Linked DNA regions of Homo sapiens: all the other regions are linked to region 2. Evidence: promoter capture Hi-C in 16 types of primary human blood cells and fetal thymus (Javierre and others, 2016). All regions are on one chromosome and are shown on one strand. Each heading gives the region's core, a stretch centred on a gene start or on the middle of the fragment in contact. The rest is flanking DNA. Distances are from core to core; before and after follow the strand shown.

The links. The method cuts DNA at HindIII sites, captures the fragments that hold promoters and counts their contacts. A CHiCAGO score of 5 or more calls a contact.
Region 1: a contact is called between a fragment that was not itself captured here and the fragment with the promoter of SNAI2 in region 2, in 3 of 17 cell types (M2 macrophages, M0 macrophages and M1 macrophages). The highest score is 10.1, in M2 macrophages.
Region 3: a contact is called between a fragment that was not itself captured here and the fragment with the promoter of SNAI2 in region 2, in 1 of 17 cell types (M2 macrophages). The highest score is 5.2, in M2 macrophages.
Region 4: a contact is called between a fragment that was not itself captured here and the fragment with the promoter of SNAI2 in region 2, in 1 of 17 cell types (M2 macrophages). The highest score is 5.2, in M2 macrophages.

The regions. Positions count from the first base shown.
Region 1 is chr8:48,693,753-48,696,783 of GRCh38, reverse strand. LOC101929268 (a long non-coding RNA gene) reads right to left here. Exons shown (of 4, transcript NR_105002.1): 3 at 1,298-1,360; 4 at 1-226. Among named protein-coding and RNA genes, the nearest start is that of CLXN, 40 kb to the left of the region's middle. RefSeq lists an enhancer at 1-360. The HindIII fragment of the contact is 1,520 bases long and covers 1,017-2,536 here.
Region 2 is chr8:48,919,777-48,923,221 of GRCh38, reverse strand. SNAI2 (snail family transcriptional repressor 2) reads left to right here and starts at 1,793. Exons shown (of 3, transcript NM_003068.5): 1 at 1,793-2,035; 2 at 2,781-3,326. The coding sequence starts at 1,957. LOC107986942 (a long non-coding RNA gene) reads right to left here and starts at 1,665. Exons shown (of 4, transcript XR_001745895.3): 1 at 1,021-1,665; 2 at 458-532. RefSeq lists an enhancer at 1,603-1,682. The HindIII fragment of the contact is 2,868 bases long and covers 184-3,051 here.
Region 3 is chr8:48,675,223-48,678,646 of GRCh38, reverse strand. The region is part of intron 2 of LOC101929268 (a long non-coding RNA gene); the gene reads right to left. Among named protein-coding and RNA genes, the nearest start is that of LINC02847, 56 kb to the right of the region's middle. The HindIII fragment of the contact is 730 bases long and covers 981-1,710 here.
Region 4 is chr8:48,723,482-48,726,876 of GRCh38, reverse strand. CLXN (calaxin) reads left to right here. Exons shown (of 6, transcript NM_024593.4): 6 at 2,076-3,395. The coding sequence ends at 2,135. Among named protein-coding and RNA genes, the nearest start is that of CLXN, 10 kb to the left of the region's middle. The HindIII fragment of the contact is 6,529 bases long and covers 1-3,395 here.

The DNA of each region.
Region 1 (3,031 bases), core at 527-3,026, 230 kb after region 2:
AAGGATGTTCTCTTAGAGACAGATAAACATAGGGTACCGAGGACTCGGTTTTCATTTTGCTTTCCATCTTCGTAGTGACTTTTCAGTGGCTGAGCTCACTGCAAGCTTTTCACGGAGCCTGAGAGCCATGTGCACTCTGGGCCCTGGCGCTCCGCAGGAGCGGCGTTTAGCAGGTTGCAGCATCAGCTCACCTGCTGCTGCAGAGCTCTGCGTCTCCAACAGGCACCTGCACACACAGAGGAGTTGTCATTACCCTTAGTGCTATGCACACAGGCGAGTCTGGGCCTGTTGCGAGTCGCCTCCGGTAATCACAGACCCAGACACATGGTGCGGTGGAGAAGCTGGGGAGACAAGCAGCACCCACACCCTGTGCCTCCCGACCTCCGTCAGGACCCCATGTCCCCACCACTCCCTTCCCCACCCACCCTGCCTGGGCCTGAGTCACAGCCCAGAGTCTGCATGCCAGGTCCAGCACCTACTCCTCTCACTCTGTGGACTTCCGGCCACTCTGCCAGCCACGCCCTCACACAGACATTCCAAGACAAGGGAAAGGGGCTGTGGGGAAGCCTCTGACCTAACATGAAAGCCCCCCCATGGCTTCCAGCCACAGGGAGGGGAGGGCGTGGGGGATGCTGAGATTTCCTCCAATGACCTCTCTGCAGCAGCTCCTTCAAAGGTGCCCTTCTTTTCCAGTTGAAGGCAATGCTTTTTCACTTTTTGCATTCAGGCTGGTTAACAGGCAGCTGTGATCGCTCTTAAGACTGAGGTCCTAGGAGAGTCTGGGAGTGAACTCACTTCCTAGTGGCAATGAGGGAAGACACCTAGTCATCCTGAGCTCTCTACCTGGGCCATGCCTTACCCAGGCTGCTGGCCCACACTCTACCACACAATGTCTTATTTTCGGAGCACAGTGAAGTTCAACTTCCTCCTCTCCATGACTCTACACAGATTGTGACTTCTGCTTCATGGGGGAGTGCAGCATGAGGATTTCTGCTCCACCCATGAGTCTGAAAGCTTTCCACACCCAAGCAAGCCCTGGATGGGGTTCATTTCAGTTCCTGGTCAAAATATGGGGGCCGTTATACTCAACTACCCAGGACGAGGTGCTGGAAGAAAAATTCTCCAGATTGTAAAGTTTAATGTCGAAATATCAAGTAAGGCATTTCTTTTCTTTGCGATCATGCAACAGATCCAAAAGCAAGAGAGTAAACTTCTCATTTCTGTGCAAATCAGTTTTCCAAGGGAAAGAAAAAGAATGATGAATGGAAGATCTGGGAAGCTCAGGGAGTTATTTTACCTCCTGCACTTGATCCATCTGCAAAGTGACACATGGCATCCACTTCCTCAGGAGAAGACAAACCTACAGAGAACACAGAAGTCTCACTTTCCTATGACTAATGTTTACGATGCAAGAACATTTGATCAAAGTAGGCCTACCCAAGAGCTGGAGTAGGCGCTTACCCATAGCTCCCACACGGCCCTACGGAAATCACAGGTGGCTTCAGGTGAGCCCCAGACACCTGGAGCTCCTTATGACTAGTGTGGCAGGTAAGCCTTTGATAAATCCCAGCTCTAAAACCTTGGCAAGGGCCACTTGGCTTTCCAAAATTCTTTTGTGTGTCAAAGCTCCAGCCTGATGCTTCCAAAGGTGCATGCTCCACAGGATTTGTGGCAATTCTCATGGCTGAGCACTTTGCAGCACATTGGCAAGGAGGCGCTCTTCCCCTCCCAAATATGCAGGCCAGAGCATGTGAGCGACAGCTGCCTGGCCTGCCCTCCTTAGCCTGGCAGAGCGGGAAGCCTTGCTCAGGCAGCTCCCCATGGCCGGATGGCCCTCCCTCCCTCCCTTCCAGTTCCTCTTCTACACTGGTGAGATGCATGGGCCTTTATTGCTCTTCTACAAATATAGGGAAAGCGAGGCTATCATCTGCTATGTCCCCAACACTCATCTCTCACATCACACTGGAGGGCAGCATCTCAGCCTCTCTGAGATTACAGACTCTGGTCTCCTACTTGGGATGACGATGTTGATTCTAGAGGAGCAAGTAAGTAATTTTCCGTCAGTACGTTAGGTACTTAGAGCAGTATCAAGTGTTCAGCTATTCTTTGTATCATGCTTAGTATTATTAGTGCAACATGTCTTAAAAGCATTTTCTCCGATACTGTTTTGGTTCCCTTTGACACTTACCCCACTTTTATGCTGTTTTTCCTAGAAAGGCTTAGCTAATTCTTACGTTTGGCCAGTTTAAATAATCTAACTTCCTTTTTATCAGATCTCCTTAAAAGCCATAGCAATTTAACGAAATTTGTTGAAATATATCAACCACCCCGTGAAATAGACACTGCAGAGTTGTCATGGCCCCGCATGTGTCCCTGGTGCAGGTGTGGGTATGTATGTGTGATGATTTTGTTTGTTTTCATGGGATGTTTTGTTTCCAGCTGAGGGGAGGGGCATGAAGGGGTAAACCATCAGGATAGTTTTCCAGCAGTCACTTGTTCTAGAATGGGAACCTGTTCCTGTGAAAGATTCCAAGCTTCACCTCCTATTACCATAAATGGATTATATATTCTTTCTATAGACAGAACAATTAAAGCAAACTACAGGACTCACTGGAGTGGAGGAGATCTGGGAACCCCGCGTATAGCATGGGAACTGAGCAAGCCAGCTTTTCACAGTGATTGATGCTGCATGTTTAACAGTGCCAAGGAGGGCTGGGCCCAGTCTCCTCCTGAATTCATTAGCTGTGTTTGTTTTATACATGGACTACCTGTGTCTTTTTGGCAGGGGATCATAAAGCCAAGTGACAGCAACTGCTCTGCCCAGCCATTGCTTCTGCAGCCAAAGTCAGAGGCGATTCTGCCAGCAGCATAACTGCTGGAGTCCCAAACCTTCCTAACAGGCCAGCAGCCCAACAAGAACCCACACTGAACACCCAGCGGCACCCATGCCACCACAGACCAGTGCGTCCCACCCCACTGGAGAAATCCAATTTTGTAAATACAAGTAGCCCACCAAAAGAAAAAGTTAGGG
Region 2 (3,445 bases), core at 544-3,043:
AATAGACTGTGTAGAGTGAAACAAGGAAATAATAGCCATGGCGATATGTGTTTTCTCAACTGTGCTATATCTGTAACAAAAATGTGTGTTTTGTGGGAAATGGAGTGAAAAGCAAGGAGGACTCCTGCTCTCATAAACCCAGGTGCCTACATCCGAACAAACCCTCACATAGAGTAGCAAGCTTAGAAAACTGCCTCTGGCTTTTACTCCAGGTTCCAGTTTGTGTGTGGAGAAATCGAATATGTATTCATATTTTCCTCTCTCCTGCAAGTACAGTTCCATTAGCATAAGGATTCCTTTGAATTATTTTCTCTGTTTGACATTTAAATTAGTGACTGTTGGAAGAAATAAGAATAATCATTGAAATTAGCTTAGGAAATCTGTGAGTGCCCCACCTCACCCTCCAAACACACATACACTCTTGTTTTCTCATTCCAAGATTAAGAAGTTATGCAACCTGACAATGCACTTTTCTCTGACAAGTCTTGACATCACCACTGTTATTTTCTTTTTCACTTTTTTCCTCCAGCACCTGTTAGAAACAAGAGTAGGGTGATCTTCATGTGAATTTGTTCTTTCCTTATTCTTTTAGCAAAAGATAGGGATAAAAGTCTGCAATGGACAGAGATGCTTTAAAATATGCTTGAAATTTTATATTTAAAATAAACCACCTGAAAGTATTTTTAGATTGAAGACCATACACAAAATAAAGGTGTTTTTGCAGTTACTAGACTGGGTTCTTAAAACTTTAATCAATCTATATTCATAATAATATCCTTCAATTTCTTTTTTAGCATTATACAGGAAACTGGTAGATACTGAGATGGATTTTAATGGCTTTATACTGATGAAAATAGCACCACATAAAAGCAGGGGAATATTAGAAATAAAAATAATTGTCTCTAAAGACCCATACAACCCTTTTTCCCATAAAAAAAAAGATGCACTGTAATACATGAAAAGATAAGATCTCTTGTCAAAAGTGTGAGAGAATGTCCGGTGGTTCCAAATGACAGTTACCTCTTGCCCCCCTTCTCTGCCAGAGTTCCTTTTTATCTTTGCAATCTTCCAGTTCTTCCGATCAGCCTGCCTTTAGAGGGCTACAAAGCATTTCTTTCAAGCCACCATAGCTAACACGGTGACATGAGTACTTAATTTGCACGCGGCCGCGCTGCCCCTGGCTTCGCGGAAGCCCTGAGTAGCGCAGCGCCCTCGCCGCACGCAAGGCTGCAGTCCCGCTCCAGGCCAGAGTCCCAGGAGAGCGTCCTCCGCGCTCACAGGCGCCTTTGTCTTCCCGCTTCCCCCTTCCTTTTTCAAAAGCCAAGAGGTAATTATTTGGTCTTTGTGCAAGGCAAACCTCTCCAGATGCCACTTCCAAATATAGGCTCTCATTAACACCAGAGGCTGGCCTGGTGTGGTGCAGGGCGGCCCTTCCTTCTCCTGGCGGACACTGTGTCCCCGCGCGCTGGCGCTGCACCACATCTGGAAGCCAGGCGGGCAGGGCAGAGACCCCGGCTCCTGCGCCCCTCCTAGCTCCCAGAGAGCGTGGATCGCGGGCGGGGCTCACCGAGCGAGGTTACCTCTCTTGAAAATACTTAAACACTTTTTTTCCTCTCCACTGAAATCTCAAAAAACAGCCCATTTTGAACCAGAATAATTTAGTCTGACAACAGATTCTTCCTCTGTTCACAGCTGTCCCAGAGGGAGGAGCTGAAATCTGAACCTCTCAGCTGTGATTGGATCTTTCTTGCAAAAGAGAGGAAAAAAAAACCCTCCCAGCCAAAACGGGCTCAGTTCGTAAAGGAGCCGGGTGACTTCAGAGGCGCCGGCCCGTCCGTCTGCCGCACCTGAGCACGGCCCCTGCCCGAGCCTGGCCCGCCGCGATGCTGTAGGGACCGCCGTGTCCTCCCGCCGGACCGTTATCCGCGCCGGGCGCCCGCCAGACCCGCTGGCAAGATGCCGCGCTCCTTCCTGGTCAAGAAGCATTTCAACGCCTCCAAAAAGCCAAACTACAGCGAACTGGACACACATACAGGTAAAAAGAGAAAAATATATCTAGAACTACGTATCTAGAGCTTTGCAAATATGAATCTACGTATTACCCTTCAAATACCATTACAAAAGAGCCAAAGATTCAACTGTTTTCCTTTTTAACAGTGTCCTGAAAGGGAGCTTACATTCTTTTGATCATTTAGGGTTCGTTTTAATTCAAAACTTTTAAAATTCTTGACTAACAAGGAACATTTCATTCAAATCTCGCAGCTTCGTTTGCTAAAGCCTGTGTATACATGCATAATGAGTATGTGAAAGATGAGCAACATAAGGATTGAATTACTGCGTTTTTCATGCACTAAGTCTCCTTTCCTTTAGAAGGCGGCTTGATGCAGGCATATCTTTGTACTCACGGTCGTAATACACCTAAATAGCCCATACGTAACATGGAAAACAACTTTTCTGTATGTTTAAAAATAATGTTGAGGCTCTCCTTCCTCAATGGGGACGGCGAAGGCACTGGCTTGGCTGCACTGTCTGACTTCAGAGCACCTATAGCTCCGTGCAGCTGTCAGCCTATGTGTGCATTAAGTACAGTAACTCCGTAGGTGCCAGGGTGGAAATGAAACATTTTACCAGTGTGTATGCCCTCCTAAATGGGTCTATCTTCTTCCTAAGAAAATCACGTGTGTGTTGCTAAATATCTTTCCAGTGTGTGTATACTTGCGTGTGGATTTATTTTTAATTATTTTTGCCTTAATCTTCTCTCCCTCCCTTTTCTTTCCCAGTGATTATTTCCCCGTATCTCTATGAGAGTTACTCCATGCCTGTCATACCACAACCAGAGATCCTCAGCTCAGGAGCATACAGCCCCATCACTGTGTGGACTACCGCTGCTCCATTCCACGCCCAGCTACCCAATGGCCTCTCTCCTCTTTCCGGATACTCCTCATCTTTGGGGCGAGTGAGTCCCCCTCCTCCATCTGACACCTCCTCCAAGGACCACAGTGGCTCAGAAAGCCCCATTAGTGATGAAGAGGAAAGACTACAGTCCAAGCTTTCAGACCCCCATGCCATTGAAGCTGAAAAGTTTCAGTGCAATTTATGCAATAAGACCTATTCAACTTTTTCTGGGCTGGCCAAACATAAGCAGCTGCACTGCGATGCCCAGTCTAGAAAATCTTTCAGCTGTAAATACTGTGACAAGGAATATGTGAGCCTGGGCGCCCTGAAGATGCATATTCGGACCCACACATTACCTTGTGTTTGCAAGATCTGCGGCAAGGCGTTTTCCAGACCCTGGTTGCTTCAAGGACACATTAGAACTCACACGGGTAAGAGAAAAACCATAGGCAGGAATGTTACTCTGAGATACAATGAAGCCCTGGGCTGGCTGTTGGATTTGCATGAAGTTGTGACATAGTGCTTTTAATGATGGACAGTCATTGATAGC
Region 3 (3,424 bases), core at 96-2,595, 240 kb after region 2:
AATTGCATTCCTTATTTAACAAACCTTATTAAGCTCCCTGCTCTTCTATGGAAGGTGTGCAGGCCCCCACGTCCCAAGGTCAAGGTGCGTCCGTTGTACTTGAAAGCCTGAGGGTCGCCCCCTCCAGCAGCCTAATCCTAACCAGCGCGAGATGATTACTCATGGCCATCCACAGATGTGCAGCTACTAAAACTTTACCCAGTGATGAACTGCCAGCCTATCCCCAACTTTGTTGTTTACCGTGAGAAGAAACAAAGCAATAAAAAATAGTCTTAAGTGGATCTCCCACACTATTGATAGCCTGAGGCGCTGGGGAACTTTAGGATTAAAGGCTCATTCTTCTAGCATGGTAGAAAAAGAAACAAATAGTAGCTAGAGTAAAGTACTGTCATTTTAATCAACATCTTCAGTACAAGAAAAAAAAATCAGTTCAGGAACTATTTGAAGACGATGTTAATCTTTTGGCTCATGAAAGGAAATATGTGTTCTGTGACTGCTCTGCTGAGAAGGGTGTGTGTGTTATGTTAATATGGTAGAAAAGTATTGCTGCAAAGAGCTAATATAAATTTGCAAGACTTAAGCTTGAAATAATAGATTTCAAATGTCCCTCAAAGAAAAATTCATTAAGAATGAGAAACAAATTTTTCAAGCCATTATTAATTACAAAACAAATGTAGTAACGGTGCTTTCTGTGTGTGTGACCCAAATCAACACGGTGTTTGTAGGTTTTGCACACAATTAGATGTCTTTGCATGCCAGGCCTACAACCCTGTGGGAGAAAACCACAGGTGAGTTGTGAAGACCCAAGACTCTGAGACCCTGGGCCCAGCCTGGGCTGCGTGCTGCCACCCTCTTGCTTCGTCTGCCTGTTGCGCTCATTTGTAAGTAATCGTCTAAATGATTTTATGTATCTTGCTGGCTATAGGTCCTTAAAATGATGCTGAGAAGTGAAGATGAGAGTGAAGATGGTAAAGGAAGCTTCTGGAATAGGAGGGGGCAAGCCCAGAGGAAGAGGTGGAAGGGCAGGTATGCCACCTGAAAACCCCACGGATCCTTCACTTGTCTCCAGACAAAACGAAAACATACAATTCATCAGCAACGCATAGCCCAGAAAGTACTGCTCCTGATCAGATAAGAAGCGTGTTTTGGCTGGGTGCGGTGGCTCAGGCCTGTAATCCCAGCACTTTGGGAGGCCGAGGCAGGTGGATCACCTGAGGTCAGGAGTTCCAGACCAGCCTGGCCAACATAGAGAAACCACGTCTCTACAAAAAATACAAAAATTAGCCAGGTGTGGTGGTGGGTGCCTGTAGTCCCAGCTACTTGGGAGGCTGAGACAGGAGAATCACTTGAACCCAGGAGGCGGAGGTTGCAGTGAGCTGAGATCGCACCACTGCCCTCCAGCCAGGGCAACAAGAGTGATACTCCATCACACACACACACACAAAAACAGAAGCATGTTTCAAGGTATTCAATTTTCTTTAAAAATATTCCAATCTATTATACCCCACCCCAAAAGGGAACTTTGAATTTTACTCCTGATTTATTTTGGATTCAGCATGGTTTCTATGCCCGCCCCAGCCCCAGCCCTCACTATGCCACTGAGGGAAAAGTGTGTCTGTAATGAAAGCAGTGTGTTCAGCCCTCATCCTGTACTTCCTCAGATCTCACCTGAAGCCAAAGCATCCAAGGGCAAGGCTGGAAACCCAAGCTTACTATGTTTAACCCACAAAGTTTGGCTTTTGCCTCTTACTTTTTTATACTGTGGACTCAGCTAGGATTGAAGTGTCCATTTTAACAGCAAATATCTTTCTTTCTTAGTGATTTAAATCAGTTGACTATACCTTGCTTAAATCCAGTTTCTCACAAAATAGAATAAACAGCAAATGGTTTTATGATTGTAGCAAATGATTCTTAGAAATTTTCCCTTTGATAAATATTGTTTCTACCTATGTAGACATAATGTGGCGATTTGGAGAGTGACATTAGCTTAGGATCAAATAGGATTCCATGACTGAGAACAGAAGGGAGATTCTTTCTTTCTTTTCTTTTTTCTTTTCTTTTCTTTTCTTTTCCTTTCTTTCATGGAGTTTTACTTTTGTTGCTCAGGCTGGAGTGCAGTGACATGATCTCGGCTCACTGCAACCTCCACCTCCAAGGTTCAAGCGATTCTCCTGCCTCAGCCTCCCAAGTAGCTGGGATTTCAGGTGCCCGCCACCATGCCCGGCTATCTTTTTGTATTTTTAGTAGAGACAGGGTTTCAACATATTGGCCAGACTGGTCTCAAACTCCTGACCTCAGGTGATCCGCCTGCCTCAGCCTCCCGAAGTGCTGGGATTACAGGCATGAGACACTATGCCCGGACAAAGGAAGATGTTTTCTTAAGTTTCACACTGGCACTTGACCTTTTATGAATTCACGGAGTCTCGGGTCCCAAATAAATTGTTTGGCTCTTTTCCTAGGCTTTGTTAAGACTTCTGAAGTATTATCTTAAGAATCTTCCATCTCTAAAAAAAAATTAAACAAATAAATAAATAAAAATTAGCTAGGAATGGTGGTGCATGACTGTGGTCCCAACTACTCAGGTCACTGAGAGGGGAGTATGGCTTGAGCGAAGGAGGTTGAAGCTGCAGAGAGCTATGATCACACCATTGTACTCCAGCCTAAGCAACAGAGCAAGATCATCTCTAAAAAAAAAAAATTTTTTTCACTTAACAATTCAGGATATCTCTGGCAACACAGTGCATGTCAGTCTATTACAAAAGGAAAATGTGTAGCTGTTACAGGGATGTAACAACAGCGGGGATAATGTAATGATAAAAGGGGGGTGTTGCTAGCACTAGATAAGATGAGACTGCAGGGGGAAGCTTGCCTCCAGCCTCCACTTCCCGCAAGGTCCAGACAGTTTCTGTAGAGTCACAGCCATCCGTGTACCATCTGGAGAACAAGGTGAGCCCTTCTCTCACAGATCACGGGATGTGGCCACTCTCTGGAGACTGATGCTCGTCGCTCTGATTGGTCTTCGGTTTAGGTTAACGCTTATCATAGAAAGAGCATCTGTTGATTTAAATTCCACACGTGCTGCTATCACAAAATGAGGGGAAAAATGTTTCTCTCAAAAGTCATGTTAGCCAAGATGGTTTGCGTATTAATTCTGGAACTCTCTACACCTATTTTAACTGTCTGCAAGTAACCCTGTGCCCAACTTGCTAATCAATTTTTTGGACTGTTAGCCTTATAGACCAAAGATAAAGTACAGTGCCTTCTTTGGAGAGTACAGTCTCCTGGATAGCCTTGGGGATTTCCCTTAAAATGGCTGGACGACCTTAAGGGAGGTGCATATGTAAAATGCTTGGCTGTCAGGTATTAGCATGATTGTCCTTGCATTTTCCTAACCCGACTGCATGTCCAGTGATATCTGGCCCTT
Region 4 (3,395 bases), core at 498-2,997, 200 kb after region 2:
ATAGATTGATAGATGCATGGATAGATGGGTGGATGCATGGATGGACAATGGATGGATGGATGGATGGATGGATGATGAACTGGGTTGATGGGTGAGGTGGGTGGGTAAGTGGGTAGATGGATGGATGGATGGGTGAGGTGAGTAGATGGATGGGTGAGGTAGGTAGGTGTGTGGGTAGATGGATGGGTGGATGGATGGATGGATGCATGGATGGATGAGGTGGGTGGATGGGTGAGGTGGGTGGGTGGGTAGATGGATGGGTAGATAAAAAGATGAGTGGGTGGGTGGATGGACGGATGGATGGTGAGGTGAATGTGCGGGTAGGTAGATGGATGGATAGATGGGTGGATGGATGGATTGGATGGATGGATGGATGGATGGATGGATGGATGAATGGATGGATGAGATGGATTGATGGGTGAGGTAGGTGGGTGGGTAGATGGATGAGTGGATGGATGGATGAGGTGAGCAGATGGATGGGTGAGGTAGGTGAATAGATGGATGGGCAGATGAAATGATGAGTGGGTGGATGGGTGGATGGATGAGGTGAATGGCTGTGTAGGTACATGGATGGATAGGTGGGTGGATGGATGGATGGATGGATGGATAGATAGATGATGGATGGTTGGATGGATGGATGGATGGATGGATGAAGTGAATGGGAGGGTGGGTAGATAGATGGATGGATGAGTGGATGGATGGGTGGATGGGGTGGGTGGGTGGATGGATGGATGGATGGATGGATGGATGGATGGATGGATGGAGTGGGTGGGTAGATGGATGGGTGGATGGATGGATGGATGGGTGAGGTGGGTGGATGGGCGAGGTAGGTGGGTGGGTAGATGGATGGGTGGATGGATTAATGGATGAGGTGGATGGATGGTGAGGTGGGTGGGTGGGTCTCAGAAGTGCCTGATGGGGAGCTCTGGATCTCTCCATCTCCTCAGGAGCTATTTCATTCATTTACCTTTATCTTTATACCACATCTTCAATCTCTTCCCTCTCTAGTGAAACCTTCCGATTAGAATTTTATTATTTATTTATTTATTTATTTATTTATTTATTTATTTTTGAGACGGAGTTTTGCTCTTGTTGCCCAGGCTGCAGTGCAATGGCACAATCTCGGCTCACCGCAACCTCCGCCTCCCAGGTTCAAGTGATTCTCCTGCCTCAGCCTCCCGACTAGCTGGGATTAGAGGCATGCGCCACCACGCCCGGATAATTTTATATTTTTTAGTAGAGACGTGGTTTCTCCATGTTGGTCAGGCTGGTCTCGAACTCCCGACCTCAAGTGATCAGCTTGCCTCGGCTTCCTAAAGTGCTGGGATTACAGGCATGAGCCACCATGCCTGGCTCCCATTAGAATTTTAAAAGATTCAAAACTGTCCCATCTGAAAAGCAAAATGAAAGAATGAGAGGAAGAAGGAAAGAAAAGGAGAGAACTTACCTTAATTTCACACTTATTACTTCTGTTTCTTATATAATGGCTTTCCTTCTTAAAACCTAGCTTCTTGAAAGAATTGTCCAGATTTAATATCTAACTACTATCACTTCTTCCTATCTACCCCTGAATCTGCTATTGCAAGGTCACCCTCCCACCTTGTGAATAAATCCCTTGAATGCTCTTGGCTTCTTACCTTACTGAACCACATCCCCCTCACCCTTGGCTCTCAGTACAGCCTTCCTGTTCCAGAGAGTGCCTCGTTCCCAACCAAGGCCCGGCTGTGCCTTGATTGTTCCTCCTGGACTCCCATAGTCTACCATGTGCCTTTCCCTACCACAGCCCATGCAGCCCTGACTGATTCTTGCAAGTTTCTGGCCAGTCTCTGCCACCAGGCTGGAGACTTTTGGAGAGTTGGGTCAATTGGTCTTGCTCATCTTTGTGGCCACATAACCAAGCACTGTGTTTTGAGTGTAGTCATGAGATCTGTGAGTGAAACGCTTGAACACCAGAAGTTCTCGATGCCCACTAACCCTCAGTTATCCTGTCTCTACACTAAGGAGACATACAGAATATTTTGTGGTGTTCTACCTTTTTTGGAAATTTATACTAAATTGAGTACCTTTTTTTACAGAGCCAGATGGAATTTGAAGCTCAAGTATTCAAAGATCCAAATGAATTCAATGATATGTGAATAACTAAATGTCTATATTGTCTCAAGTGAGTAAAAAAGGAGGCACACACATATTGCTTATTTTTTCTACTTAGTTCAGAAAAATGATGTTGAATTGTGTGTTTCAGGGTGAAGATGAGGTTCACTTACATATATCATTTAACATCAGTGTAAGATGCAATTAAAATAGATGGAAGACAAGAAGTCCCTTATTAGATGATGGGTTTGGCAAGACAGTTAACTTTTCTACAGATGTTTTATCACATAGACTATCTGTCGAAGCACATAACTGGCATAAAACCTTTGGGTTCATTAAATGAATAGAGAGATTACATAATTATGAATTGTTAATACAAATATTCTGCATGTCAAAAAGAAGCTGGGTGTACACTGAAAAATCATTGAAACTACTGGATTTCCTTTGAAACAAATAATGAAGATGGCATCAAAAGAATAAGAGTATTCTATTGAGCATTGAAACGCCTTTCTGGTAGGCATTGAGGGAGATCTAGAGAGATGAAAGATACATGGAAATCATATTATATTGAAATATAATATGATTTGCATTATTGTTTGAGGCTTTGGCTAAATAACGTTACTGATTGTAAGCACCTGAAGGCAAGGGTTTTATCCACCACATCTTTGTCTGCCATAGCATTTAGTCCTCTGCATACAATGGGCTGTCCATAATTACTGTAGATTGGACTGAAAATCAAAAAGTACCACAAGATAAATGCAAACTCTTGGTGAGCAGAGGGAGAACATGTACTGAGTTTCTTAGGTTTCATGGCTAATGCATTGGCACAGCTTTCAGTGTATCCCTGCAGTCCTTCCAGATAGTCCCTGCCCCATGCATTGCAGATGGTTGCCAAAGCCCCCCTCTGTCCTGGCACCCAGTGTTCCTCCATCCTGACTCCACGTATTGCCCCCTTGCCACTGCCTGAGTGCACCATAGTGTCCCCATCCCCCCACTGCCTGGAGTTCCCCTTGTGTACCCCCTTATCAGGGCACGACCTAACTGTGCCCTGCTGGCTGTGACCTCCTGAAGACAGACCTGGCTTCTCCCTGCATCCAGTTCCCCAGTATGTGCTGTGGGCATCCTGAGAAGCCTGAAAAAGACAGGGCCAGGTTAGGCTTGGGTGAGCTGCTTTCTGCCTTCTTGGTACACACAGTAAGCAGTGGAGAGGCGTGTTACACCGTATCTGTTCTATCCTCATCTAAATACTGAGAGGCTAGTTGGGATAGTAAATCTTTCTTACTACATATGCATTAAGTTTAAGT